Linked DNA regions of Homo sapiens: region 1 is linked to region 2. The links are contacts of gene promoters, found by promoter capture Hi-C in human tissues and cell types (Jung and others, 2019). All regions are on one chromosome and are shown on one strand. The core of a region is centred on a gene start or on the middle of the fragment in contact, and the rest is flanking DNA. Distances in the headings are between cores, read along the strand shown.

What was found. Contacts are between HindIII fragments. The study calls those that stand out against the background at their distance.
Region 1: a fragment that was not itself captured here is called in contact with the fragment with the promoter of TMC6 in region 2 in 1 of the 25 tissues and cell types used here (spleen).

The regions. Positions count from the first base shown.
Region 1 is chr17:78,477,511-78,484,746 of GRCh38, reverse strand. It overlaps DNAH17 (dynein axonemal heavy chain 17), which reads left to right. Exons shown (of 81, transcript NM_173628.4): 49 at 3,961-4,063; 50 at 5,115-5,262; 51 at 5,631-5,722. Among named protein-coding and RNA genes, the nearest start is that of DNAH17-AS1, 3.8 kb to the left of the region's middle. RefSeq lists a silencer at 1-34 and enhancers at 105-154, 185-324. The HindIII fragment of the contact is 3,081 bases long and covers 2,828-5,908 here.
Region 2 is chr17:78,126,985-78,130,776 of GRCh38, reverse strand. TMC6 (transmembrane channel like 6) reads left to right here and starts at 2,022. Exons shown (of 20, transcript NM_001127198.5): 1 at 2,022-2,165. TMC8 (transmembrane channel like 8) reads right to left here and starts at 6. Exons shown (of 16, transcript NM_152468.5): 1 at 1-6. RefSeq lists silencers at 1,929-2,458, 3,729-3,792 and an enhancer at 3,139-3,388. The HindIII fragment of the contact is 22,186 bases long and covers 1-3,792 here.

The DNA of each region.
Region 1 (7,236 bases), core at 3,119-5,618, 350 kb before region 2:
GGGGGGGTGCTGCAACGTGGGTAGGGAGACACGGGTCGTAGCTGGGCCCCCAAGTTTGTGGGGCCACAAGGCATTGAGGTAGGGCCAGGGTAGGGGAGAGGTTCTATCAGTTTCGTCCATCACCCATTTCACAAACATGCAGCAGTGGCCTAGAGCCCCCGCGGAGGGGGGGATCCTCCTTCCCCCCTTCCACCGAGGTGTCTGTCCCGCCGGGAGAGGAAGAAGCACATTACCCGGTAAAGGAAGAGCCCTGAGGAAAACCCCCAGTGCAGTCACAGAGGAGCCTCCCAGCTGGGAGCCCCAGCAGAGAGATGCCCCTGGGGAGATGGTGCACAGCTGGAAGCTGGCAGCAGTGTCCTGCTGGCTGTGGGACCTTAGAGGGAGAGCATTCTGGGTGGAGAGATTGCCACGTGTAAATGCCCTGCCACACGTGAAGAAGCCCAGGAAGGCCGGTGTGGCAAGGATGTGAGAGCCAGAGGCAGAGGGTGCCCAGGGCAGCTGCAGCCAGAATCCCAGGGCCTCGGGACAGAGTGCAGATTTTCTCCTAACGGCACCGAGAAACCAAAGGTGGCACGTTTAGGTTTGCAGTTTGGAAAGATGAGAACATTCAGTTCAGTTGTCTTTTTTTTTTTTTTTTTTTTTTTTTTTTTTGAGGAGAAATCTCGCTCTGTCTCTCAGGCTGGAGTGCAATGGCTCGATCTTGGCTTACTGCAACCTCCGCCTCCTGGGTTCAAGGAATTCTCCTTCCTCAGCCTCCTGAGTAGCTGGTAATACAGGTGCCCACCACCACGCCGGCTAATTTTTGTACTTTTAGTAGAGAAGGGGTTTCGCCATGTTGGCCAGGCTGTTCTCGAACTCCTGACCTCAGGTGATCCGCCCGCCTTGGCCTCACAAAGTGCTGGGATTAGAGGTGTGAGCCACCGTGCCCAGCCATAGTTGTCTCTTAAAATAAGCAAGTAGCTCAGGCCAAAAGAGCCTAGAAACTAGTCTGCTCGTTCATGAAGCCTGGCCTCATGCCGAGAAAGGCAGGCATGGGGGGTTAGGTAGTCTACTTGAGGTCATGGTCCTAATGAGTGGCGGAGCTGGGTTATTATTATTATTATTATTATTATTTCCAAGACAGAGTTTCGCTCTTGCTGCCCAGGCTGGAGTCCAATGGCGTGATCTTGGCTCACTGCAACCTCTGCCTCCTGGGTTCCAGCGATTCTCCTGCCTCAGTCTCCCAAGTAGCTGAAATTATAGGTGCCTGCCACCATGCCCACCTAATTTTTGTATTTTTAGTAGAAACGGGGCTTAACTATATTGGCCAGGCAGGTCTCTAACTCCTGACCTCAGGTGATCTGCCCGCCTCGGGCTCCCAAAGTGCTGGGACTACAGGCGTGAGCCACCACGCTCAGCCAGAACTGGATTTTGAGTTCAGATATGTCTGACTCCATCACTTGCCTTTTCCTCACTAAACGACACTCCCAGAGCTCACGACTATAGGAAGCCTACTCTGGGCTGCAGGCTGTGATGTGGGGACGGAGGCATCAGAGGTGGCTCCCTGGGGGAGGTGACAAAGCTGCCACTCTGAGGAGGGAGCCTGGAGAGAGTTTGACATCATTTGAGGAGAACCTAACGTGGTGTGGGGTGGGAGATTTGAGGGTACCCAGACAGGAGAGGAGGACAGGTGCATGCATGAGAGCCCACCCGTTCCTCTCTGCAGGCAGGTCTACTGTGAGGGCTGTGGCGGCTCAGCCTCGGTTTCCCTGCAACTCGCGAGGCCCCTTCCAAGGGTTGCACACGGTCATGTGCCCTTGTAAAATTTGTTTAAGATTTTTGCTTTCTTTTCCTCAAGGAGGAGCCTCCACATTCTTAAGCTTCAGCCCTAGGTCCACATCTGCCCTGGAGTTTACCCTGAAGGATCTTCAGGAGGGGTGGCAGAGTGAGATTTGAGTTTTCAAAAGATCCTTCTAGAATATCAGATTAACATGGCCCCACGACAACAGGGAAGGATGGACTGTTTAGTGGATGTGTCAGGAAAATGCTCACCTGTGGAAGAAAAAGGCAGACAAGGGTGGGGCCCGTGGGAAGGATGGGCCCGCAGGGAAAGGGTGAGCTGTGAGGTGGGCAGAAGCAAACAGGGACAACATCTGTGACCTGAGAAGTGTGCACAGGAGAGGACTGCGCAGGCAAAAGTTTCAGAGGCACACACAGAAGGGCAAAAAATTGATGGCTGTGATTTAAATGAAAGTTAAGGAATTTTGCTCAGTGAGAGACACCATGGACATATATAATGGAGAAATAAAAGAATGGAAGAAAACATTTGCAATGTATAAAATTGACAGTGGATTAATATCTGAAATATACAAGGAATTACTAGAAACTAACAGACGTCAACTTCCAACACACAAAGTGCATAATGGGGGAAAAAAACAAAAGTGCTGGGCGCAGTGGCTCAGGCCTGTAATCTCAACACTTTAGGAGGTGGAGGCAGGAGGATCACTTGAACCCAGGTCATATAGTGAGACCCTGTCTCTACAAAAACTTAGCCGGGCATGGTAGTGTGAGGCTGAGGTTGGGAGGACAGCTTGAGCCCAGGAGATAGAGGCTGCCGTGAGCTGTGTTCACCACTGCACTCCAGCCGGGGTGAGAGAGCAAGACCCTGTCTCGGGGGAAAAAAAAAAAAAAAAAAAAGTAACTAGTGTAGTGTGACATCAAGGAAATTATTCAGCTTATTTTATTTTATTTTTGAAATGAAATCTTGCTCTGTTGCCCAGGCTGGAGTGCAATAGCATGATCTTGGCTCACTGCAGCCTCCACCTCCCAGGTTCAAGCAATTCTCCTGCCTCAGCCTCCCAAGTAGCTGGGATTACAGGTGCCTGCCACCATGCCTGGCTAATTTTTGTATTTTTAGTAGAGATGGGGTTTCACTATGCTAGCCAGGCTGATCTTGATCTCCTGACCTCAAGTGATCTGCCCATCTCAGCCTCCCAAAGTGCTAGGATTACAGGCATGAGCCACTGTGCCTGGCCTATTCAGCTTATTTAATAATAGCAGCCATTAATAATTATCCTGATAACAGGGATGGTGAATATTTATTGCATACTTACTGTATGTCAGGTACTCTTCCCAGTGTTTTTTCATATGTTAGCTCATTTTATCCTCCTCATGACCCATTGCACAGGTGAGAATATTAAGGCACAGAGATGTTAACCAACTTCCCAGAGCCCCAGCACTGCTTAGGGGAAGAGCTGGAACATAAACCCCAGCCTGCTCTCTGAGCCACTCTTTTGCCTCTTGTTTCAAAATTTCTCTGGAGAGCATGAAGTCACAGCAGCTGCTTCACATATTATCAGTATCTGTGGAGGGTTTTTAAGACCACATGGAGTAATCCCAGCATTTGGGAGGCTGAGGCGGGCGGATCACAAGGTCAGGAGATCAAGACCATCCTGGCTAACACGGTGAAACCCAGTCTCTACTAAAAGTACAAAAAAATTAGCCAGGCATGGTGGCGGGCACCTGTAGTCTCAGCTACTCGGGAGGCTGAGGCAGGAGAATGGGGCGAACCCAGGAGGCGGAGGTTGCAGTGAGCCAAGATCATGCCACTGCACTCCGGCCTGAGTGACTGAGTGAGACTCCATCTCAAAAAAAAAAAAAGCCGGGGGATGGGGGGCGGGCGTGGTGGCTCACACTTGTAATCTCAGCACTTTGGGAGGCTGAGGCGGGCGCATCACGAGGTTAGGAGATCGAGACCATCCTGGCTAACACGGCGAAACCCCGTCTCAACTAAAAATGCAAAAAATTAGGCAAAGCTTGCAGTGAGCCGAGATTGTGCCACTGCACTCCAGCCTGGGCAACAGAGCGAGACTCTGTCTCAAAAAAATAATAATAAGGAGGGCATTCTTGGGAGCACAGTGGGGGCAGGGGATGGTTCCTCCAGGCCAGGGGCACAACATGAATGCTGGTTTCCCCCCTCAGGTATGACAGACATAAGCTGACGTTAAAAGATATCCATAATTGTCAGTACGTGGCCTGCATGAACCCCACTTCCGGATCCTTCACCATCGACTCCAGGCTTCAGGTAAGCAGAAACCATACTCATCCCCGTCACCTGCCATGAGTCTGAGGCTTGCTTCTGGCAAATGAGAGGAAAAGCTTTGGTTTAGGGTGTTAGGGCTGCAGGCCGACATTTTCTGGAGAACTCCTTAACTTTGCAGAATGTGTCAGAAAATTCCAGGGCATGGAGAGGATGAGCAGCTAGCCAGCCTTCCCTGTGACCCGGTCAACTGGCAGAGTTAGCAAATAAAATTGCAGTTAAATCCAAACTCCAGATAAATAAATATGTTTTTAGTCTAAGTATGTTACATACAATATTTGGGACATACCGTTCTTTTTTTGTTGTTTTGTTTTTGTTTTGAGGCTGAGTCTCACTCTGTCACCCAGGCTGGAGTGCAATGGTGTGATCTGAGCTCACTGCAACCTCCGCTTCCCGGGTTTAAGCAATTCTCCTGCCTCAGCCTCCCAAGCAGCTGAGGCTACAGGTGTGCGCCACCACACCTGGCTAATTTTTGTATTTTTAGTAGGGACGGGGTTTCACCATATTGGCCAGGCTGGTCTCGAACTTCTGACCTCAAGTGATCTGCCCTCCTCGGCCTCCCAAAGTGCTGGGATTACAGGTGGGAGTCACCGTGCCCGGCCTGGGACATACTTTTTTTAAAAAAAAAAAAAAAAAAAAAAAAAAAAAAAAAAAAGTACTTGTTGTTTATCTGAAATTCAGATTTAGCAGGGCATCCTGTATTTTATCTGTAGCCCTTACCCAGACAGACTTTGCCTCTAAGTTATCTAAACACACAGAGATCTGGATTTAAACCCAGGCCTGTACTCTGAGCCCATCTCTTGCCTTTGCCAAAATTCTTCTTGAGAGCATGAAGTAAATTTGTCTGTTTCATGTGTAATGATACTTAATGCAGTTTTACCACATGCAAGGCACAAGGAGGGTAACTGCCCATTCTGACAATGCCCAAAAGACCTTAGAACATGAGGACAGGGGCCACTCTCCCGCGAAGGTGGCCCTGGCCCCAGGCAGGTCCCCAAGAGCTGGCTGACTGGAGTGTTTGGTTGTTTTGGGGTAGCGCCATTTCTGCGTGTTTGCTGTGAGCTTCCCCGGCCAGGAGGCCCTCACCACCATCTACAACACAATCCTGACGCAGCACCTGGCCTTCCGCTCGGTCTCCATGGCTATCCAGAGGATAAGCAGCCAGCTGGTGGCCGCGGCCCTGGGTAAGCTGGCTGGCCTCATCCCCTCTCCCATCGGTAAAACCTATGGCTCTGTGGGCTGATGGTTCTTCACATTTTCCCTTGATAAATATTTTATTTATAATTCTAAATCAATATCTTAAAAACGATGCTATGTTTCGACAGGAGAAATTGTGAAATACAATTGCTTCATGGGGAGGTAGGGGCTAGGAAATTCTATACACAAATGATTTAAGGAGAACAGCAAATTCCCTCCCACTTCAAAGAGCTGTGCAGATTTCTTACTCCAGTTGTCACCATTTCGTAGTCCATTGGCTTTAGAAACTTGAGGCTTGCACTTCCTGGGGCCATCAAGAGTACATGAGAATTGACACGTCCTTTTCCTCTAACAGCTTTGCATCAGAAAATCACGGCAACATTTCTTCCCACGGCCATTAAGTTTCATTATGTCTTCAACCTCAGGGACCTCTCCAATATTTTCCAGGTACTGCTCTTGTAGCTTTATGTCATGCCTGCCTTACGGTCCAGTGCCTGATCCACAGGTGCTTTCCTCATCACAGCTCTCAGGGAGGTGTGGACTGATGATGGTGGTGATGGTGGTAATGATAATGATGATAATAATGGTGGTGATGGTAATGGTGGTGGTGACAGTGGTAGTGATGGTGGTAATGGTGATGGTCGTGATGATGGTGATGTGATGATGGTGGTAGTGATGGTTATGATGATAGTGATGGTGATGTGATGATGATAGTGATGGTGGTGATGGTGATGATGGTGGTGATGATGGCAATAGTGGTGGTGATGGTAATGATGGTAATAATTGTGATGATGGTGGTAGTGATGGTAGTGATGGTGGTGATGGTAATGGTGATAATGATTATAATAATGGGGGTGATGACGGTGGTGGTGACAGTGGTAGTGATGGTGGTAATGGTGATGGTCATGATGATGGTGATTGTCATGATGGTGGTGATGATAGTGATGGTGGTGGTGAGGGTGATGGTGGTGATAATGATGGTGATAGTGATGGTGGTGATGATGGCAATAGTGATGGTGATGGTAATGTTGGTAATGATGGTGGTGATGATGGTGATAGTGGTAGTGATGGTGGTGCTGATGATAATAGTGGTGGCAGTGATGGTGGTGGTGATGGTGATGTGGGTGATGTGATGGTGATAATGGTGGTGGTGGTGATGTGATTGTGGTGATGGTGGTGGAGATGATAATGGTGATGGTGGTGGAGATGATAATGGTGATGGTGGTGATGATGGTGGTGATGGTGATGTGGTGATGATGGTGGTGGTGGTGATATGATGGTGATAATGGTGATGATGGTGATGTTATGGTGGTAATGGTGATGATGGTGATGTGATGATGCCACGTGGTGGTGATGGTGGAGATGATGATGATGGTGGTGGTGATGGTGATGATGGTGGTGGTGATGGTGGAGATGATAATGGTAATGATGGTGGTGTGATGGTGGTGGTGATGGTGATGATGGTGATGATGGTGGTGGTGATGGTGGTGATGATGATGGTGGTGGTGATGGTGGAGATGATAATGGTGATGGTGGTGATGATGGTGGTGATGGTGATGTGGTAATGATGATGGTGGTGATGATAGCGATGGTGGTGGTGATGGTAATAATATTTCCTCTCATTTACTGACTGCTTACTCTGAGTCAGAGATTGGGTTTGGCCCCTTACATTCCCATTTTCTCCTTCTCCAACAACACATAAGTTTGGTGCTTATATCCCCATTTTACTGAGCAGGAGTTTGTGGCTGAGGGAGGCTAAGTTATGCCCACCTCCTCCCACGTAAAGTATCAGCCCAGCCGGGTGCAGTGGTTCATGCCTGTAATCCCAGCACTTTGGGAGGCCAAGGCGGGCAGATCACGAGGTCAGGAGTTCGAGACCAGCCTGGCCAACATGGTGAAACCCTGTGTCTACTAAAAATACAAAAATTAGCTGGGCATGGTGGAGTGTGCCTCTGTAGTCC
Region 2 (3,792 bases), core at 773-3,272:
GGGAGCCCAGAGGAGGGGTCATATGACAGGAAACCCAGCTTCCCTCTCCACTACCTCCCTCCTCCCCTCTCACCCCATGGTTTCCTCTGCTTTAAACTGAGGCCAAGCAGGCACTTCCTGTGGGCCCCTGAGATGCAGAGGTGAAGGTGACAGGCGTAGGCCACTTGGCCTCCCAGGGAGCTCTGTGCATGCTGGGCTGCGGGTGGCCCACCCTTCCCCTCTGCACAGGAGTCAGGGCCTGGTCTCCTGCAGCCCTAGGGTCCACTGGTCCGGGTCTGCCGCCTGGCTGCCTCCAGGGATGTCCAGCCTGCAGCTGAGGCCCTCTCTGTTCAACTCCTTCCAGCCTGGATAGGCAGGACTTGACCTCGAGGCCTGAGCTGGGAGCCTGACATGGGTGGGGATGGGAACGGTGGGGGCACAGGGGCCAAACTCTTTATCTGCCGGCCTCACCCTGGAGGGTGTGATAATGACAGGATGGTGGGCTCCCCAGAACCTGGCTGCTGGGTTTCCAGATACTCTTGGTGTTACTGCTGTACTTCCAGCCCCTGTCATTGGCGTTATGGTTGTGCCAAGACCCAGGCCTAGCACCTGGCCGGTAGTAAGTGCTCAGGAATTGGCTCCATTCATGCTCTCCCAGGCTAGATGTTTAAGACATATCTTTGCCAATTCTCTGTCCTTGGGCCCCTGGGAAGCCCGCAGCCCTTCCTCTCTGCTCCCTCTCTACCTGCTATAGGGCCCAGTCATCTCAGGTCTGAATGTTCATAGCTTTTCTGCCTCTCTGCCCACCTCCTTCCTGGTTTCCAGAGTCCTTTCTGTGTGTCAGGCGCAAGCTATGTGCTGGTGCTGGGCACACAGTGGGCTGGGGTAGGAGGGGGCACAGAACCACAGATGTACATGTCAATAGGAAGTGGTAGGTGCTCCACCAGGGTTCAATCTGGGGAGGCTCCCCAGAGGAGGTGGCATTCATGCAAATTCAGTGTGGGTATGCAGGGAGGGGGAAGCAGTGGGAGGAGAGGCAGGGGCTGGGTCTCCATGCCAGGGTGCCACTTGCCAAGAACCAGCTTGGGGTAGCCATCTGAGGACCACACTGGCAGCTCCAAAAGGCCCCAGCCTTGACCCCTGCCTGGTCCTCGCTTTTGCTTGCCTGCTCTCCCCTGCAGCAGTGCCCTCTCCTGCCCTCCTGGGCCCCAGCTCACATTCACCCTGCCTGCTTCATGGCTTCTCCCCGCCAGGAATGACCCTCCCTTCCAAATGGGCTTGGGGTGGGGGGTACAATCTCAAAGGCAGTTTCCTCCATAGAGTTCCCAGGTGGACCACTAAGTCTCCTGCTTTGGCTGGGGGCACCCTAAAGGGTGATTAACTTCTCTCAGCCTCAGTTTCCTCATCTGTGAAATGGGAATATCAGTGCATACCTTCCTGGCTCATGGGGAATAACAGAAAACAGGGCAACGGGTACAGCACCTGGGGACAGTCACCTAAGTGTCAGCGTGTCCTCCTTTTCATCCCCTCCTCTCCACACAGCACACAGGAAGTGAGCCAGAACTCTTGCTAGATAAACAATGAACCCCGCCCAGGTGTCAGGAGTGGGAGATAACCAGGCTCCCCCCGCCGGGGTCGGGGAGAGTCAGCAGGAGGCTTGCGGGGGCGGCGGGGGGGGGGGCGCTGCCCAATCTGGAGTGAGATACTCTGTGTCCCTGGGGCTTTCGGCGGCATCTTACTTGGACGATCCCTAACCATGGGAAGCAGATGAGTCTGGAAATATTGCCCCTTTTTGGAACTTGGGGAAACTGAGCGTCAGAAAAATTGGGGACTTCAACCAGGGGCTGGAATGAATCCAGCCCAGCTCAGACCTCAGGAGGAGGGGTCGGAAGTTGGCAGGGGAGGAAGGCATAGTCGCCGCGGGGCGCCCGGAGGAGGGCGGGGGCGCCGCGGGCCGGGCCGGGTCACGTGATAGCCGAGGCCCGCCCCCCCCCCCCCCGCCCACGTGGGCCGGGAGGTGCGGCTACTCCCCCGGCCCCGGCAGACCTGCGACTGGCCCAGTCGCCCCTGGGGCCCTTTGCCACTCCCTTGGCAAGGAGAGCCGAGACCTCAGTTCCCGGCGGCTCTTGCGGGGCACAGGTGAGCCCTGGCTGCGCGCGCGGCCCCTCCTCCCCGGCGCCTCCCAGGTGAGCGGCCGCGATCCCGGTCCCGGGTCCCGCCAGCCCCAGCTGCTTCTCCTATGCGGGGACAGCGGCAATCCCCCCTGAATTCCTTTCGGCCTCTGGGGCCATTTGGCAGCCGAGTTCCCTCCCCGGGTGCTCCTGGAGCTCCCAGGGCTTGACCCTCCGGCTCGGACAGAGCTGGGAGCGGCAGGGGCGGGGAGGACAGTGCGGGGAGCAAAATCCGCAGCCCCCACCCAGGTCCCCCAGCCGAGCGCCAGGGCACGGGGAGGGGAGGGGAGGGGGTGTGGCCGGGATGGGAAGGGGCGGGGGACAGGGAGGCCGGCTGGACGGGTTCGGTGGCCCCAGAGTTGCAGCCGCTCTGGGCTCTGGGGCCAGGTTGCGGTTCTCCCTGGGTAGCGGCTGCTCCCGGGAAGCTCGCTGCCGGCTGGGGTGGGGGTTCCTGGAAACGGGCGCCACCCAGCCTCTCCCCACCTAGCTCAGGAATGGTGCGCCTGGAAACTCCGCTGGACTTGCCTGGGCCTCGGGGCGGAGTGCTGGGGCGCTGGGTGCCCGAGTCCCCGGGTTCCCTGAGCTTAGAAGGGCCTGTCTGGAGGAAGGGATTCCAGCTCTAGGGACTGGGTGGGGCGTCCTCAGCCCCTCTTTCGGCAGCTGTCCCGTGTTAGGCTGGGTGGGGCCGCCTCGGACCCAGCTCTGGGCTGGTTTTCCCACGTCTTTGCTCCTGCTGGAGGGAGGGGGTGGTGTGGGGCCTGGGCCCGAAGATGGCACCCAGGACACTGAGGGAGGGCGCCGTCCGGTCCTGTGACTGGCACCCCTGCAAGGAGCTGCTCTGTCGGGGCGCCCCCGGGCTTTGCCTGTCCGAGGAAAGCGCCCTTCAACCCGGCCGACTTTGAGCCCTGAGTTCCTGAGGGTGAGCGCAGGAGGAGTCCAGGGCAGAGGCCGGCAGGACTCGCTGGTGGCTGGGAGCTGAGTCCTGGCTCCACTCTCACAGATGAACGGGCCCCGAGCCCAGGGCCCCAGACAAGGCTGCTCTGGTTCCAGTTGTGCCGGGTGACGGCAGAGCCAGGACAAAGGAGGCCTGTTGAGGTCCTGGCCACCCCCAGCCGGCCGCCCTGGGATGATGGAATGCAGGGCAGTGGGTCTTCTGAGAACATGAGGACCTTGGCGCCCTGACGGCGGTGGCATGGAGTGACCTCTGTGTGTGGGGGAGGAGCCCCCTGTGCTGCTTCCGCCTGGGGCTGGTTGGGGGTGAGGGCTCCAGCAGCTAATTTCCTGCTAGAGGAAGTTCTTTGAGGTCACAGGGCAGACGCAGAGAAGGCCTACAGCCTACTCTGACCTTTCTCTCCAAAAAGGAGGTGTCTCTGTGCCAGAACCCTGGGCATGGAGATCCTGAAAGGGGCTGTGTCTACAGGCACCCTACCTCTTCCCCATTTCCCAGGGACTGGCGACATCGAGGAAACAGATGTGGAACTGCAGACCCCACACCCTTCCTTCCTCTCTCCCCTCCCCTGACACTGGAGGGGGCCCCCCATTCCATTCTGGCATGAGGCTTATTCGGTGCCTCACCATTTATGTACCTGGGGTGATAGGGGGGTGGGCGGGACTGTCTGGGCTGTGAGTGGCACCTCCTGTG